5 separate regions of the Homo sapiens genome follow, and regions 1, 2, 4 and 5 are each linked to region 3. The links are contacts of gene promoters, found by promoter capture Hi-C in blood cells and fetal thymus (Javierre and others, 2016). All regions are on one chromosome and are shown on one strand. Each heading gives the region's core, a stretch centred on a gene start or on the middle of the fragment in contact. The rest is flanking DNA. Distances are from core to core; before and after follow the strand shown.

Region 1 (3,350 bases), core at 563-3,062, 490 kb before region 3:
CCCACTAATTTCTGTTGCGCTTGTCCAGGGTAGATGTACTTGGGCACAAACATGGTCTCAAAGGAGAAGAAGAAGCTTGGTATGAAAGGCTTAGGGACTTCCAGTACTTCATCTGATATGCTCATAAAGGAAAGGCGAGTCAGCAGGGCTGGGGGAAGCAATTTTAAACAGGACACTAGGTAAAGACTCTGGTTAAAAGTCACAAGCAGGTCACCCCGGTCATTTGCAAAACAGACTGGGCCAAAGTGCAGTGATGAGTCCAGAATGCCTATGAGTCTGCCATGGAAGTCCCAGATCCGAACAGAGCCATCGGCAGAACCTGTGACAAAAAGACTCAAGGAGAGGCAGACATCAAAGGATGTGATGGCACACAGGTGCAGAGGCAGTGTTTCTATGAATTTCAAGCCATTCTGTGACCCAGAGGACAGAAAATCATGGAACTTCCAGAGACGCAGGCAGTTTGTCTCTGTGATGGCACCCACAGACTTGGGCAAGAGTATCAGATGTGTTAGGTGACAGCTGCTGAGAATGCTGGCGAGAGGCCGCAGTTGTACTTTGACCCCATCAAGCACAGCTTCTGACAGGTGCACATAGTCATCCATTCCATAGGAACAGAGCAGAGAGTTTCCTTGGCCACCAAAAATCCCTCCAGACAGCGTGGAGAGTGCCAGTACAGCGCCAAAGTGCATGAATTTTTCTAATCGAGCACAGCTGTGCTGGGAGAGCACTCTTATCACACCACTCTGGTGCCCAGAGAATATCAGTCCCTCTAGACCCCGCCCCAAGTTGAAATGCCCATAAGCCAGGCATTGTACAAAGTCCTGAGAATTTGGTGAGGTGCCTAAGAGATACTTGGCTGGGCAAGGGCAGCGGGTTGTGTCAAATACCAGAACCTCTGAGCTGCCTGTTGCTACAAAGAGCTCCTCTTTACCTGGGTCGTAGGCCCAATCCACAGCCTGGTCCAGGATTGAGAAGGGCCAGGTGATAACCAGAAGGTCCCCTGTTACTGGGGACACAAAGCGCAACAAGCCATCCTCAGTGGTACACAGGATCCGGAACCAGTTATTTCCACAGCAGACCCGACGCAACTGCTGGGGAGCAGAGCCACAGACATTGAAGAGGCTGTAGAAGCAGGGCAGGCGGTGCAAGGAAAAACTATGGGCAGTTTGGCAGAAGAAAGTAATGCTGTCAATAAACTGGAGCCGGTATAGCTCCTCACCAAGCTCTAGCCGCCGAAGCAGGCTCCCTGAAGTCAGGTTCCACTCCTTGATTAGGCTGTCACTACCAGCTGTTAGCAGGGTGTGGGCCTCTGGTCGGCTGCGGATACAGATCACTCCTGATTGATGGGCCTGGAAACTGTGGAGTGGATGGCCCTGCTGGAGGCTCCAAACTTGGATTTCCCCAGCTTGGTTTCCAGCATAGAGAAAGCCCTGATCAAAACAGGTGAAGCAGCAGGTGATGGAGGAGCCGCTGCTGGTGGACGTGAACCTCTTTACCTCTCCCAGCTGGCCCTTGCCCTGGTGCATAAGGACCCTCACCACCGTCTCACACAGGGCCAGGAGGGAGCCACTGGGACCATTCAGCACGATGTCCTGGACAAGCTCATCACCTGGCATGGAGACCATGTGGGCTATTTGGAGGCCCGTGCCACCTAGCTCAATGACCCAGGTCACCACTGCCCCCAGGATGCCAGACAGAAGCATCTTCATTTCCGGGTCATAGCAGAGGCAGCTGATGTTGAAGCGGCAGGGCACTTTACCCAGGGGTTTGAATGCCCGAAAGTGGTCCCCAAAGAGTCGCAGGATCAGGTCACCACAGTAGACCACGAGGATATGAAAGGAGCCTGCATGGACCATGGACTGGATGGGTGGCAATCGTTCAGTCATGGAGAATGTTCTTTTCTCAACCATGTCCTCAGTTTTGCTCTTCATCCATGCTACAGCCTAGAAGAGAATAAGAAGGAAACTGCCTAGGCCGGGTGAGGTGGTTCATGCCTGTAATCCCAGCACTTTGGGAGGCCGAGGCGGGTGGATCACCTGAGGTCAGGAGTTCGAGAGCAGCCTGGCCAACATGGTGAAACCCCATCTCTACTAAAAATACAAAAATTAGCTGGGTGTGGTGTCGGTGCCTGTAATCCCAGCTACTCGAGAGGCTGAGGCAGGAGAATCGCTTGAATTTGGGAGGCAAAGGCTGCAGTGAGCCAAGATTGCGCCACTGCACTCCAGCCTGCGTGACAGAGCGAGACTCTGTCTCAAAAAAAAAAAAAAAAAAAAAAGATGAAACTGCCTAGAGCTGATGGTAGGGCAGAATATTCCCTTATTTCCCCATGTTTTATGTTAAGGAGGAATTGGAGGACTCAAGTGATTTTATCCCTTGGTGATGGGAATTGGAAATACGGTAGAGGCAGGAATCCTAGGACCCTTTTCCTAACCTTGGTTTACTTCGGGGGAACCATACAACCTACTCAACATGGGGACTATAATTGGAGAAAGGATGAGGAGAGATTTCTGGTTCCAGACCACATTCATCCATGGGGAATATCCTCCTTTGTCAATCTGGGCTAACAGTTATATGGGCATGGCTCTTGGAGAATGGGCCAAGAAGGGTAAGAAAGGCAGTCTTACTTGTATTTCTTTTGTGTTTGATGTCACCCAAGAGAGGGAGGCGAAGAAGTGGGCATCACTGAAGTAATAGCATACACACGGCATATTTTGAGGATAGCGAGACTCTTTGAACAGTACCTGGGACCGGTCACTCAGCACAATCAGGCAGTTCTTTGGGTCTTCCGAAGGTTGCTGGAGAGAGGCGTGGCATAAACTAAGAGGCCAGGGCACAGAGGCACTAAATATATTCTCGCACAAGTCACAGTTGGAGCAGTTCCCAAAGTCATGCTTCCCACCCGAAGGACCTACTCCTGTTACACTCACACGTGCATAACTTATCACCTGTGGCACAGCTATACTTCACAAGCATGTAACAAATCCCCCAATGCATGAGGGAACACAACCCTGCAGAGTCTCTGTGTGCAAATTTCATAGTGTGAACACAGGGAAAAATGATGTTCTTTTCAACATGAAGTTAGCCATGCCTGCCCTCTAACATTCTTTTTTTTGTTTTGTTTTTTAGATGGAGTCTCTTTCTGTTGCCCAGGCTGGAATGCAGTAGCGTGATCTCAGCTCACTGCAACCTCTACCTCCCAGGTTCAAGCGATTCTCCTGCTTCAGCCTCTCAAGTAGCTGGGACTACAGGCACATGCCACCAGGCCCTGCTAATTTTTTGTATTTTTAGTGGAGATGGAGTTTCACCATGTTGGCCACGCTGGTCTTGAACTCCAGACCTCAGGTAATCCG
Region 2 (3,539 bases), core at 496-2,995, 390 kb after region 3:
ACAGGCTCCCGCCACCACGCCCAGCTAATTTTTTGCATTTTTGGTAGAGACGGGGTTTCACTGTATTAGCCAGGATGGTCTCGGTCTCCTGACCTCATGATCCGCCCGCCTCGGCCTCCCAAAGTGCTGGGATTACAGGCATAAGCCACCGCGCCTGGCCTAATTTTTGTATTTTTAGTAGAGACAGGGTTTCGCCATGTTGGTCAGGCTGGTCTCGAACTCCTGACCTCGTGATCTGCCCTCCTCGGCCTCCCAAAGTGTTGGGATTACAGGTGTGAGCCACTGCGCCTGGCCTGAAATAATATTTTCGTGAGCCTTTTTTCTTTTTCTTTCTCGTTTTTTGAGACAGAGTCTCGCTCTGTTGCCCAGGCAGGAGTGCAGTGGTTTGATCTTGGCTCACTGCAACCTCTGCCTTCCAGGTTCAAGTGATTCTCCTGCCTCAGCCTCCCAAGTAGCTGGGATTTCAGGTGCCTGCCACCACGCCTGGCTACTTTTTGTATTTTTAGTAGAGACGGGGTTTCACCATGTTGGCCAGACTGGCCTTGAACTCCTGACCTCAGGTGATCCACCTGCCTCAGCCTCCCAAAGTGCTGTGATTGCAAGTGTGAACCAACGCACCTGGTCACCTTTTTTCAATTTTAAATAGTTAATGTAGGCCGGGTGTGGTGGTGCACACCTGCATTCCCAGCTACTCGAGAGGCCGAGGCAGGAGAATTGCTTGAACCCAGGAGGCAGAAATTGTAGTGAGCCAAGATAGCTCCATTGCGCTTTAGCCTGGGCAAAAAGAACAAGACTCTGTCTCAAAAAGTATATATAATAATAATAATAATAATAATAATAATAATAAATGTATATATTTCTCAATAGTCTTTCTATCAAGGTATCCTTCCCATAAAATAAAAGATGCAGATATTAAAGGTATAGTTCACTGATTTTGAGAACTGTGGAGACCTATCTAACCACCTCCTCAATTAAGTTTCCTGGTGTCCAGGAAATAGTGGCCTCTCTTCTAGTTCCAGGAAGCCACTGGCCAGTGTCACTCCTGACCATTTTTTTGTTTTGTTTTGTTTTGTTTTGTTTTTGAGATGGGGGTCTCACTCTGTCACCCAGGCTGGAGTGCAGTGGTGCAGTCTCCGCTCACTGCAGCCTCAATCTTCCAAGCTTAAACCTCCTGGGCTCACCACCTCAGCCTCCCGAGTAGCTGGGGCTACAGACACACGCCACCATGCCTGGCTAATTGTGTATTTTTTGTAGAGAGAGGGTTTTACGATGTTGCCTAGGCTGGTGTTGAACTCCTGGAGTCAAGCGATCTGCCTGCCTTAGCCTCCCAAAGTGCTGGGATTACAGGCATGAGCCACTGGGCCTGGCCACTGCTGAGCATTGACTAGCCACCGAGGTTCTTTTGTCTCAAAATAAAGAAGAGGGAGTAGACTGATTTTTCTTACTTTATGCCTCTTTTAGGAAATAATTTAGATGAAAAGTAGCTAATTGCACACTAGGTGGTTGTAGAGATTTAAAATTCAGGCTCCATGAATGTCATTTGTTGGTCACATTTTGGTTATTTTTTATACACAGTGAAGGTAATTCTGGGGCTGCTTTTTGTAAATCAACATTCTGATGATGAAAATGACACTTAGAAATCTCACTTTGGCTGGGCACGGTGGCTCATGCCTATAATCCCAACACTTTGGGAGGCCGAGGCGGGCGGATCACCTGAGGTCAGGAGTTCGAGACCAGCCTGGCCAATAGGGTGAAACCCCGTCTCTACTAAAAATAGAAAAAATTAGCCGGGCATGGTGGCAGGCACCTGTAATGCCAGCTACTTGGGGGGCTGAGGCAGGAGAATCGCTTGAACCTGGGAGGCAGAGGTTGCAGTGAGCCAAGATCACGCCATTGCACTCCAGCCTGGGGGACAAGATCGAGACTTCCTCTCAAAAAAAAAAAAAAAAAGGAAAGAAATCTCACTTTGTTCTTGGCCAGGCGCAGTGGTTCACCCTGTAATCCCAGCACCTTGGGAGGCCAAGGCGGTGGATCACCTGAGGTCAGGAATTTGAGACCAGCCTGGCCAACATAGTGAAACCCTGCCTCTACTAAAAATACCAAAAAATTATATATATCTATATTAGCTGGGTGTGGTGGCACACACCTGTGATCCTAGCTACTTGGGAGGCTGAAGCAGGAGAATCACCTGAACCCGGGAGACGGAGGTTGTGGTGTGTGATCGCACCACTGCACTTGAGCCTGGGCGACAGAGCAAGACTCCATCAAAAAAAGACCAAACAAAAAAACAAAAACAAAAACAAAAAAACCCCAGAAACTCACTTTGTTCTTAAGCTTTTATGCCCATTGGAAATCTCACGACTCTATTTTTATAAATATAGTAAATATTAATAAAACAATCCAATTACCGCTAAGAAAAAGTCTATTCTCTAGTGTTCAGTTCCATTTATAAACTTAGTTAATTAAACTCTCTTAAATATTTTAAACTGAATGCATAATTTTAGAGGTTATTCATTTTTCAGTGTTTCAATTGCTCTATAAACTCATCCAAGTAATTCTTGTAAGTTTCCTAGTGATTCTTGTACATTTCAATGCTTAAACAGTAAAATACATGCATAGCTTTTTCTTCTTCCTTCCTTTCCTTCCTTTCCTTCCTTTCCTTCCTTTGCTGAACAATTGGGCCCTAAAGCTATTATGTGGGGCTGAGCAAGGTCATGGTGGCCCTGAATGGGCTGATTGGGGTGGGATGTCCTTGGGAGAGGTGTTTGGGGGTCAGGGCTGAGCAGGATGAGGAGCGCTCAGCAGAGGCTGCGCGTAAGTGCCCAGTGAGGGCCAGCAGGACACGTGACAGGGAGCCTGCACTCCCAGCATGGGAGGAGGACACCTGTGTGGGGTGGGTGCCCGACGAGGGGCATTGGAACCAGCCTCGGGGGGAGGTGCCATGTGGGAGTCAGAGATGAGGACTGGAACTGCTTTTTTTTTCTGGGAGGGAGTTACAGATATGGAAAGGGAGAGGTAGGCACCAGCCCTGTGGAGCTGGACTGGAAGTGGAGGCATTAGCGTGAGCTAATGGTTTGAGGATTGGGTTATTTGGTGGGGCAGGTTTGGACTCTTTTTATTTTTATTTAATTTAACATATTTATTTATTTATTTAGACAGAGTCTTCTCTGCCACCAGGCTGGAGTGCAATGGTGTGATCTCGGCTCACTGCAACTTCCGCCTCCCAGGTTCAAGCAATTCTCCCACCTCAGCCTCCCGAGTGGCTGGGACTACAGGCATGTGTCACTGCGCCTGGCTACTTTTTGTATTTTTAGTAGAGACGGGGGTTTCACCATGTTGGCCAGGCTGGTCTTGAACTCCTGACCTCAGGTGATCCACCTGCCTCGGCCTCTCGAAATGCTGGGATTACAGGCGTGAGCCTTCTTATACCAGTTTTTTTTTGTTTGTTTGTTTTTGTTTGTTTGTTTTTTAGACAGAGTGCAATGGCGTGATCTCGGGTCATTGCAACAACCTCTGCCTCCTGGGTTCAAGGGATTCTC
Region 3 (3,465 bases), core at 273-2,772:
CCTCGACTTGAAGGTGATTTTACACAGCAGGCTCAGACCGGACTCGGAATCCGCAGGCTGGGCCATTTCGCCTTCGCCCGCATGGGGAGGCGCCCCTCCGCGAGCCCTGCCGGCCGTCTGGCCCTGGTTGCGGGGCCCAGCCTGGCTTTCTGTCGGGGGTGAGGCGGGTGTGGCCAGAGCAGGAGTGATTCTGCGGTCCGCCGGCTGCCGTTCAGAAGGTAATGGTGGTGGCGGCTTCCAAGTCTCCAGGGGCGGCGGAAATTGGGATGGGGCCCTCGGGACAGTGTCCTTCACGGATAGTTGCCGGGGCGGCGGCGGCGGCTTCAGCGGGCGGAGGCTCGGAGGGTCGCCCTGGCCGCGATGGCTCGCCTCCAGCAGGCGGCGGATCCGGGGAACTGGAGTGCCCGCGGGCTTTTGCCATTTAGACGGGCCGGGCAGCAGAGTCCCCGCGGGGGCCGGGGGTGGTGCAGAGACCGCGGCCGCCTCTTCAGGAGGGGGCATCACTGGAGAGGGCCGTTCTAAGGTGAGGGGCAGGGTCGAGGGTGAGGCCTGGGGCTCCCGGGGTACCATGAGTCCCGGGGGTGTGGCGCTGCCAGGGAACCAGACACCCAGCCCACGAGTCAGGCGCATGGCCTGGGAGGTCATCTCGGGCTCCACCAGGGACGTCCGGCGGGAGTCGGGGGCGCGGTCCGAGGGCTGCACTTTTCGGGAGCCCCCGCCCGCGGATGGCTCCGACTGCAAGTTCCCCATTTCTGACGGAGCTCGGAGACTAGTCAGAAAAATTTACTCCAGTCAGCCTGCCAGGGCCGTGGGGACCCTACGAGGCTGGCTGTACTTGATCTAATGCGTCCGCACCGGCCCCGCCCCTGTTCTCCAAGATCCGATCAGGCCCAAGTCCTTAGGTCGCACTCCTGTTCCCCGACCTTCGACACTCACGCCTTCTTGCCCATGTCCCCAACACAGCTGCTGTTAAGATACTTCACTACCAGCCCCATTATGTACTAAGGTTCCATGCCTGTCCCCTTGGCTGGTCATGCTGATCCCTCAGTCCTCTCCTCTAACTCTCCGACTCCCCGCCTCTCTCTAGAGCACCTGGGTCCCGCCCTCTTCCCAGGCAGGGGCAGATCCTCAGGCCTCACCCCTAAACCTCTTCCCGCTCCAGGTCTACTAGCTGGCATCCACAGTCAAGCTCCACCCCTGTCCCCAAGCTCCGCCCTGGCCCCGCCTCCCCCCAGAGGAACCCACTCACCGAGTCCTCCAGCCGAGCAGAGTTCAGACCGCGGCGCCCTGGGCCCGGGGCAGGGCAGGGAACTGCCGTAGCAGAAAATAACCGAAAAGAACGGGGGTGCGGGTGAAGGCAAGTGGGCGAGACAACTAGGGCGGACCCCGAGATGTAGGCCCCGCCCCCGGAGCTCGAGGCCCCGCCCTCCTGCGAGCCCGCGGGAGCCCGGCCCCTTACGAACCTAGGTCTCCCCTTGAAATACTCCGAGGTCTTGTTCCTCGCCCCCAGGCCTTCTGGTTCTAAGCTCCACCCCTTTGGGTTGTTCTCCTTAGCCCCTCCCCTTTAGAATGTCCCGCCCCTCTCATTCCCTCCCGAGGCCCCGCCCACGCGAACACCGATGCGTCGCTCCTCCCCTTTGGACCTCTCATCTGCCCCGCCCCTAAGGCAATTTACCTCTAAGCTCCGCCTTTTTAAGACCCGGCAACATCGCTTCTCAAGACCCTCTCCTTCCCCCCGGGCGCCGAGAAGGCCCATCCACCGTGGGCCCGCCCCTTCGTGACGCACGCACTAGTCCTCGCCTGCAGCATCCAAACCTCCTTATACCCAGGCCCTCCAACCCCACCCACTTGTGAAGGCTCCCCTCTCGCCCCACCCCTTATCGAACTCTGCCAGGCACCCAAGCCACAGCGTAGACCACCACCTCTTTAGAACCTTGAGACCAGTCCCTGTCCCTGCCCCGTCCCCTCCTCATAGCATTAGAGACCAATGGCGCAGATGGGTGGAAAAGTGGGGGATCCCCTCTGGATCTTAAGAAAATGGGGGCTGGGGGGTTGCTCTCTGGAGCTAGTGCCGGGCTCTAGGACCCAGCAGGCAAGTAAGCCCGCCTCGCTCTTACCCCTCCCCCAAGCCGCCCCTTCCCCCCCCACCCGTCTTCCAGGTTCCCCCTCCCTCCCCCCTCGCCCCGGCTCCCGGTGCCCGTCTCCAGCGCCGCCGGAGCCAGCCAGGGAGCCGGAACGAAAAGGAGGAGGAGGAGGCCGCGTCGCCGCCGCTCGGAGCCCGGCCGGAGCCTCGCAGGCAGGTGCCGAGGGGGGCGAGGGGGCGGGGGCTGACAGACTGCCTGCCCCGATGAGGGGGCGGCCGTGACCGCGCTGCGCCTTCTGCCCACCCAGGCGCCCCCAAGGCCCCGGCTAGGAGGACTAGAGAGTGGGGACCCCCCAAACTGCGCGGCAGCCATTCAGGGTACCAGTCTTCATTTGTGGGGTCTGGACTTTCTCCGAGGATGCCCCATTCACAAAATTCCGTCCTGGACCCTCACCGTTGAGGAACGCTGAGGACCACTCCCCCCGGGGGACACAGGATGTGTGGGGAGCGTAGGCCACCCTGAAATGCCAGTGCCCCATTCCAGCTAGGCCCTGGGGGGACCCCTGCTCTCATTCCCTGCTTCACCTGTTGTCGGGGGAGGCGGGCGGACAAAGGAAGCAGCGTCACGTGACTGCTCATTCACAAAATCCCATCCCATTGAGAAAAGGGGGCTGGGGGCGCTGCAGCCGCCCCTTCCCCTCCTGAAGGGCCCGGGAAACCCAGCAGCCTGCAGGTGGGGGAGGGGGCTAGAGCTCGTCCGGGTCCCTAAGGTTGGGACGCCAGGGTCCCTGTGCTGGATGGCAGTGAAGGGCTGGACACTGATCCCGATTACTGGGCGGAGGGCTACGTCCTCTGAGCTGGGGGGCGGGGTAAAATGGTTCTGAAGGATGCTGGGGCTGGGGGGCGGGAAGGGAAGAGGGAGGAAGGATCAATCTGCCCCCCCATCCCATCTTTCCCCCCTGGCTTCCCTCGGCTGGGGCCTGGGGGAGCAGCCTTGATTTTTGTGAATGAAATGCTCTCTGGATGTGTCTTCGGTCGCCCGTTTCTGACTTCCTCTGCCTCCGTCTCCCTCTGAGCCTCTCTTTCTGGCCATTTCTGGTTCTCTCCCTGTTCCCTGCCCATCTCCCGTTGCTGGGTGACTCAGTGAGCTTTGCATCCGGTCTCATTCATAAATCCGGGAAGGGGTGGGTGGGGGGGAAAGAGCCTGGGTTTCTCACCCAGCCTGTGGCCTGGACGACAGGGTGCGGAGGCAGGGTTGGGAGAACAGGAGCTGAGTTGATGGGCCCAGAGAAAATATATATGCGCAGGCACCCAGCTGTGAGGGGGAGCACTGGGTGGGGCTGTGGGTATGTGCTGAGGGAGGAGAAGGGGGTGATAGGGAT
Region 4 (3,531 bases), core at 900-3,399, 460 kb after region 3:
TGAATGAGGACATCCCCTTTGCATGTGCCCCAAATTCCTTGCCCTTTAACTGGCTGAGCCACCATCATCTAGCTAAGCACACCTGTTCCCCACCACTCACACCCAGGTTCAGTCAGGGCAAAAAACAACACATGCCCCAGAAACTGGGGCAGCCAGGCCAGTCTTGACCCCTTCTAGTCTTGAATCGCCCTCCCACCAAAATCTGCTTTGGAAATTACTGCCTAGGTCAGACTAAGAAAAACCAGACAAGAAAAGTCTTTTATTTATTTTTTGAGATGGAGTCTCACTCTGTCACCCAGGCTGGAGTGCTATGGCGTGATCTTAGTCCACTGCAACCTCCGCCTCCCAGGTTCAAGCGATTCTCCTGCCTCAGCCTCCCGAGTAGCTGGAATTACAGGCCCTCGCCACCACACCTGGCTAATTTTTTTGTATTTTTAGTAGAGACGGAGTTTTGCCATGTTGACCAGGCTGTTCTCGAACTCCTGACCTCAGGTAATCTGCCTGCCTCAGCCTCCCAAAGTGCTGGGATTATAGGCATGAGCCCCCACTCCCGGATGGAAAGTCTTTTAGAAAGACCAGAGACTCCAACCCATACCATTAAGAACCGACTGCTCCTTCCTAAGAGAAGTATCTTACACCCACCGACAAAAGCCTCTGGTCATCAGGAGAAAGATTAACTCTCTTCCGCCTCTCCTGGGCTCTGGGGCCGGCCCCCTGTCTGAGAATCACTGGGCAGAAGTGCGTGGAAGGTGGGTAGAATTGGATTCTATTTCAGGAGCGATCCACGCGAACCACAGGGTGAGGCACTCCCGCCAGGTTAGCAGCTCCCACAAATGGGAGTTCTAACTCCAGCCCTGCCCCTCACTAGCTGTGCCACCTACAGTAATTCACCTCATCTCATCTCTCTCCTGGCCCATTTCCTCCTTTGTAAATCGGGAATCCCAGTATCTCCCCCAACCTCAGGAAGCGTTAAGGATTTTCAATTAAGATGTCTTTAAAATGTGTGGGACAAGGCCAAGATTAAAACGCTAGCAACTCGTAACCCCTAAACCCTGGAAAACCCTGCAAATAGGCGGCCCTGTAAGACTTCAAGATTTTGGAAAGAGTGGGGACTGGGCCCCACTCCAAAAGCAACGACTGGTGTTTTCGGAGGGACTGATTACAGGGGGTCGAAATGCTTCCAACATGGCCAGGAAATAGTTTGGTTTATCAAATCCTCGGTACCCAGTGAATCCCCGGAAACTGTAAGCAAACTTGTGATGGTTTCAAGGCTTCGCTCAACTCCTAAAAGGCTAAAAGTGCATTTCACAAGTCCTCTTCCCATTTTCAATGCCTACAAAAATGAGAGCATCTAGGCTCAAACACATCCATTTCTGTATAGACACAAGGCTGGGCCTTAGAGATTAAGCTGCCATCAGACGGAATTCCCCACTCTAGAGAACAAGGCCGCCGCCCACCCGTTCCCGCTCACCAGGCGCTCCCCTAACCGCCCACGAGGCCGGGCGGGAACACTGCGCCTGCGCATGGAGCCAGCGAAGAAAATGATAAAGGGGAAAAAAACCGGCCGGGCCGCGTGCCCGGCCCCCACACGCCAGCCCGCGGCGCCTGCGCACTGGGCCATTCGCCTCACGAGCTACTTCCTCTGCGCTCCCCCACACCCCGCTCCGGACCCCGCGCACGCGCAGGCGCCTGTCCTCGCGCAAACCCCGCCGTTTGCCCAACGGCCGCCCCTCCCCCACACCGTCAACGACGCGATGGCCTGGGCGCGTGCGCAGAGGCCCCCCTCAAAAAATAAAATGCCCTCAAGCTGGGAAATTGTCCCCCAGTTCCCGGCCTTCCCAGCGCCTAGGGCCCTGGCCTCACCCCACCGCCGCCGCCGCCCGCCGCCCCGGCTCCTCCACCGCCACCGCCGCCGCCTCCGTGCTGGTCGCCGGCGTTGTCAGTCTTGAGCCGCTTAGGGGCCCGGCCGCCCTCACTGCCGCCGCCGTAGTAGCGGCCACCGCCGCCTCCGCCGCCCGCCGCCGCCATCTTCACCATCGCTCCCGACCGCCTCCGCTGCTCGTCCGGCTGCTGCCTCTGCTCCAGCCGCCGACGCCGCTTCTCCGCCCGGGGCAGCAGCCTCCGCGACATGGCGGCGCAGAACCCGCCTCCCCCCGCCTCTCATTGGGGGAGGGACACGCCCGTCACCCGCCGCCCCCACCCGATAGGGGGAGCCACTGGTCCCGCCGCGGGGGGAGGGTAGGCCGCCACACGCCTTGCGCGCTTATTGGACATTGCCCACGCCGTTCTGCAGGAGGGCCCGCCCTTGTTTGTCTGAGACACTCCTTATAGGTGGTCGCTTTCTGCCAGTCTTTCCGTCGACCCCGCCGCCTTAAAATAAAATCCAATTTGATAGGTCGGATTTCTGGCGCTGCTGGCCTCCCTAAAAGCACCTGATAGGAACGGCGCTCTAAACCTCCCAAGAATCTCCGCCTCCCTCCCACTTTCATTGGTCTCCTCGCTAATCCGTCAGCACCAGTCACAATGACGACCTTCCCGCGCCACTTCGCAAGGAGACAAGGAAGCCCCGCCCTTTTTTGGTCTCTCTCCAGTGGTGGTTACAGATGCCCATTCTTCTGCGTCTCCACTGATTGGTCAATGGAGAGTGGAGCGCACCCTCTCACCAGATGGTAGGACTGTTGATACGCTCTGATTGGATGAAATGGGGAGCCCCGCCCCAGGGTAGGCGCTCTTTGGTGCAGTATACGAAACGAGCGAAGGCGAGAACGCATGCGCAAATACGCTTTCAGGCACCGCCCAGAGGCGGGGCCCCCTTATGGAGCGACCGCTGTGTGTGCGCCGGAAGGCTAGACCAAGATTGACAGGAACTCCCAGGGTATCTCTGTCGCCATCACTATACCGTGTTCATTTCTACCTCTAGGAGGAATTGTTAAAATCCCAAATCTGAGCCTTTTCCTCAGTAGAAAACCACTCGCTGCTGCCGACTGTCTTCGGACCCTGTCCAGTTCTAAATTCAGCCGCAACCCCTTTCAGTTTCCCTTGGGAGAAGGCTCTTCCGCGCACTCTCCATGTGTGCCCATGCAGTCCCTTCCACCTGCAATAGTCCACTACCCCTCCTGCAGGAGCTAAGGGCCAAGTCATCTTGTCCGTGCGATCTAAATTAACAGGTCCCTGCCATCCCAGACCCCCAGGATTCCCTTCAAAGCCATAACTCGGGCCAGTGGTTTTCACCTGACAGCTCGACCCCTCTGAGCACCACAGGAGGTCCTGGCCCCGACCCTGGAGAGGGTGGCCACCTACCAAGCGCCCAGTACAGCACCTGGCACAGTGCAAGCCCCCTGCACAGGGGAGGCGTTCTTGTGATCTGTGCCTGCGTCGGGCCTTTCTTCCTCAAGGGCGGGGTAAGACCACCCGCACTGCACCAAGAGAATGTCGGAGGGTATCTCCAGACTCCGGCGAAGCCCAACTGGCGGAGCCTGGGGGGTGGAGAGGAGCGCGCCCCAGTTATCACGCGCAGGCAGCGGGGTCAAA
Region 5 (3,289 bases), core at 706-3,205, 310 kb after region 3:
ACCTTCCTTTGACATGCATTTAACACAGCACGGAGTGATTGACATGTGTCCTTGTGTTTAATCCCTATCTTAACCTCTCGGTTACTGTCCTGTTTATCAGTGAGGAAACTGAGGCTTATTGCTTGCCTGAGGCCTCAGTGGCAGAAGCAAGATGTGAATCCGCACCTGTGTGATGCCCAAGCCAGAGCTCTTGTTTACTACCCAGAGAAGATGAGCACAGGTGGGATGTACGTATGGAGGGCGGGTAGGGCAGCAGCCCCTCTGAGGACAGGTGGCCAGAACCCAAGCGGCGAGGTTTGTTCACAGCCTCCACAGGGTGGGGTGGGGCCATCCGCAGAGGGTCTCCTGCCATCCCATTTTCCCTGCATACCAGTGGGTGGTCTGAGAGCCTTTGCAGAGAAGAGACTGGATCTCAGCACGTGCTTATGTGCGTGTGTACATGCACACACATGCGTGTGATTCATCTGGCTCTTACTTTATGCCAAGGAGCCTGTCACATGCTTTAAATGTATTTTCCCTAGTTTAATTCTTAGAGCACACTGCAGGAGGTAGATTCTGATAAATCCATCTTACAGGGAAGGAAACAGACTTAAGTAGGTAAAGTCACTTGGTTGAAAACATGGAATGAGTAAGCCAAGGGGCAGGTATTCAAACCCAAACCCAGGTCTGTGCCCCTGCAGAGCCTGCAGGAGCAGCCCACACAGGCCAAGGCTGTGAGGGGTGCTGTTTGCACGCGTGCGTGGCCCTCCCTGCAGCCCAGGTGCCTAGGTCTGGGCCTGGCAACACCAGAGCACGGGGCCTTGCCCTCGGGGAACAGCCCTCTTTTGTCCTCAGGCTGTGGGATGTGTCTTGGCTACTTTGCTGCCCAGCAGTGCCTGCTCTCAGGCACATGTGAGAGTAGAGGCCTAGCATCCGTGGCCACTTCCTTCCCAGCCCATTTGCTGCTGCCCTTTGCTCTGCAGGGCTGCTGGGCTCCTGGGCTCCACGCCTGCTTGCTGCCTGCCATCAAGGCTGGCAGTGCTCTGGGGCTGTAAAGGTGCAGGCGCCGTACTTCCCAACCCCTGGAGCTCGCACATGGTAGGAGAGAAAGCTCATGTGCATGCAACATCCAATAAGACTAAAAGTGACTGGGGGTTGCTACGGGAGAGGTGCTGAGGGTGGGCCGGGGACAGAGCAGGCACACTGTGGAGGGGGTGGGCAGGACTCCTGAGACCAGGGCAGGGAGGGAGGAGATGCTGGGAGGCACAGGGCCATCCAGAGAGCTGCCACTTCCTGAGCATTGCCATGCACGCTGCAGGCATGGCCATCTTGAGTCCTCACACTGCCCGTGGCCTAGGTGGGGTCTTCATCCCCACGTTGCAGAGGAGGAAATGGAAGTTAGGAAGGTTAGGTGACGTGCCCACATGAGTGGTGTAAGCATGGTTCCCGCCCTGGGCTCTCTGAATTCAGTATTGTATGGGGGAGGCTGGGAAGGTGAGTTAGTACTCTCCGCAGTGAGAACCTGCCTTGGCTCCCCTCCCCTCAAGGAGTTCATAGCCGTGGGAGGGAGGGAGACAAGAACTGTTGGAGACAAGAACTGTTAGAGACCAGAGAGCAAGGGCGTGATGTGGTCTGCAGGGAGGAGGCTGTCTGAGGCAGAACCGGGTCAGGGAGGCCATGGTGCGGGTACCCTCCAGGCACGGCATTTGGCCTGACTTTTGAGGGGTGCCCAGGGTTGGCTACATGGCGGGGCGGAGGTATCTTTAGTGGGGGAACAGCGTTGTGCCACCAGGAGGGGTCTCTGTCTCCCAGGTAGAGGAATTCTCCATGGTGAGAGGTGGTGGTGGGGGATGGTCTAGCTGTCCACTCTTGCCCCCTTTCGGATTTGGAAGGAAGCCCCATGCTGGGTCCACACTGGTATGGCGTATTAATTAGGCAGCTGCTTTGTCTGGGAGGGGGCTTTGTGTCGAGTCTCCCTGAATGAGCAGGGCTGGCGACAGTTGTCAAAACACATGGTGCTTGGTCAGAGCCCCCGTAGAAGCCCCTTGTCCTCCGCATGGCCTCCGCCTGCACCCGGGGCGTGGAATGTGCTCTTGTGTGTCCCTGGCTGTCTGCTTGCTTCTACACTGGCCCCTGCAGATGGAGGGGGTGGGGTACAGGGGTTCCTATAAGAAGCAGACACTTGGGGTTTTTCCCAGGTCCTGTTGCAGGAGGGTGCGTGGGCTGGTTTCCCTGAAGGCGCCTGGGCGTGTTGGTGTTAACTGATCTGAGATCTTCTGTGGCCCTGATGTCTATGAGCATGCCCCAGCTTGCAGGGGGCTGAGTAGCCGGGCACCACCAGGAGGCTGCGTGCCCTGTGCTTGGGTGTACCCATGCCCTGTCAGCATCGTTGGTCTGTTAGGGTCAGGGACTTCGGCTTCTTGTTTAGTACCCTCCATCCCTTCCAGTTGATCATCAGAAACATTCTCCTTAGATGCGGCTGCCTGACCCCGGTGAGGGGGCCTGCCTCCCACTTGCCTTCCAGCCTCCTCTAAGCTGCACTGAGTCTTAAAAATAGGAAGGATAGGGCTGGGTGTGGTGGCTCACGCCTGTAATCCCAGCAGTTTGGGAGACCGAGGCGGGTAGATCACTTGAGGCCAGGAGTTCAAGACCAGCCTGGCCAACATGGTAAAACCCCATCTCTACTAAAAAGACAAAAATTAGATGGGCATGTTGGCATACACCCGTAGTCCCAGCTACTCAGGAGGCTGAGGCATGAGAATCGCTTGAACCCAGGAGGTAGAGATTGCAGTGAGCTGAGATTGCGCCACAGCACTCCAGCCTGGGTGACAGAGCGAGACTCCTTCTCAAAAAAAAAAAAAGGAAAAAAAAGAATAGGAAGGATAGGGCATGGCATGTTCTCCAGGAGACAGAGGGACGGGGGCATCTTGCTTGCAGGAAGCCAGGCGACACAGGCGTGTGTGCAGGGCTCAGAGGGTCTGTGTTCCTGGCCTTTCCTGGGAGGGCTTGCTCTTGGGCTGCCCAAAGCTCAAAGAGAGACTCGAGGAAATCCTGCATTTATGGGAGCTTTTCTTTTCCTGCCACTTTCCTGTTCTGGGTTGTATCTGTGCACGTGATTGGAACGTAGCAGCCTGAGCTCCTGCCTGAGGAGAGCAGCCACGGGTCACGGAAGCCAGGGTCCAGCTGGGGCCTTTGGGTCTAGCTGGCAGATGAAGGGCTGGCCTTCATCAAGAAAACAAGCCCCATGAGGGCAGGAGCCCGACCTGTTCATTCCACACCACCGAGCCTGGTGCTCAGTCATGTTTGTGTG

The links. Contacts are between HindIII fragments. The CHiCAGO score rates a contact against its expected background, and 5 or more counts as called.
Region 1: a contact is called between a fragment that was not itself captured here and the fragment with the promoter of GGN in region 3, in 2 of 17 cell types (M2 macrophages and total B cells). The highest score is 6.9, in M2 macrophages.
Region 2: a fragment that was not itself captured here is called in contact with the fragment with the promoter of GGN in region 3 in 1 of 17 cell types (non-activated CD4 T cells); the score reaches 6.7 in non-activated CD4 T cells.
Region 4: the fragment with the promoter of HNRNPL here is called in contact with the fragment with the promoter of GGN in region 3 in 7 of 17 cell types (non-activated CD4 T cells, fetal thymus, naive CD4 T cells and 4 more); the score reaches 9.5 in non-activated CD4 T cells.
Region 5: a contact is called between a fragment that was not itself captured here and the fragment with the promoter of GGN in region 3, in 1 of 17 cell types (neutrophils). The highest score is 8.6, in neutrophils.

The regions. Positions count from the first base shown.
Region 1 is chr19:37,893,514-37,896,863 of GRCh38, forward strand. WDR87 (WD repeat domain 87) reads right to left here. Exons shown (of 6, transcript NM_001291088.2): 3 at 2,625-2,795; 4 at 1-1,943. LOC105372395 (a long non-coding RNA gene) reads left to right here. Exons shown (of 5, transcript XR_935962.3): 5 at 3,127-3,160. It overlaps LOC107985301 (a long non-coding RNA gene), which reads left to right and starts at 3,315. Exons shown (of 3, transcript XR_001753935.2): 1 at 3,315-3,342. The HindIII fragment of the contact is 3,479 bases long and covers 74-3,350 here.
Region 2 is chr19:38,776,114-38,779,652 of GRCh38, forward strand. No RefSeq gene overlaps it. Among named protein-coding and RNA genes, the nearest start is that of LGALS7, 4.4 kb to the left of the region's middle. The HindIII fragment of the contact is 1,173 bases long and covers 1,160-2,332 here.
Region 3 is chr19:38,386,512-38,389,976 of GRCh38, forward strand. It overlaps GGN (gametogenetin), which reads right to left and starts at 1,523. Exons shown (of 4, transcript NM_152657.4): 1 at 1,464-1,523; 2 at 1,250-1,311; 3 at 1-769. The coding sequence starts at 750. SPRED3 (sprouty related EVH1 domain containing 3) reads left to right here and starts at 2,186. Exons shown (of 6, transcript NM_001394336.1): 1 at 2,186-2,296. RefSeq lists silencers at 1,319-1,558, 3,018-3,312. The HindIII fragment of the contact is 15,577 bases long and covers 1-3,465 here.
Region 4 is chr19:38,847,837-38,851,367 of GRCh38, forward strand. It overlaps HNRNPL (heterogeneous nuclear ribonucleoprotein L), which reads right to left and starts at 2,150. Exons shown (of 13, transcript NM_001533.3): 1 at 1,864-2,150. The coding sequence starts at 2,130. RefSeq lists enhancers at 411-1,349, 1,188-1,277, 1,350-2,287, 2,438-2,527, 2,858-2,927 and silencers at 1,478-2,017, 2,028-2,287. The HindIII fragment of the contact is 20,955 bases long and covers 1-3,531 here.
Region 5 is chr19:38,696,928-38,700,216 of GRCh38, forward strand. The region is part of intron 1 of ACTN4 (actinin alpha 4); the gene reads left to right. Among named protein-coding and RNA genes, the nearest start is that of CAPN12, 46 kb to the right of the region's middle. The HindIII fragment of the contact is 9,950 bases long and covers 1-3,289 here.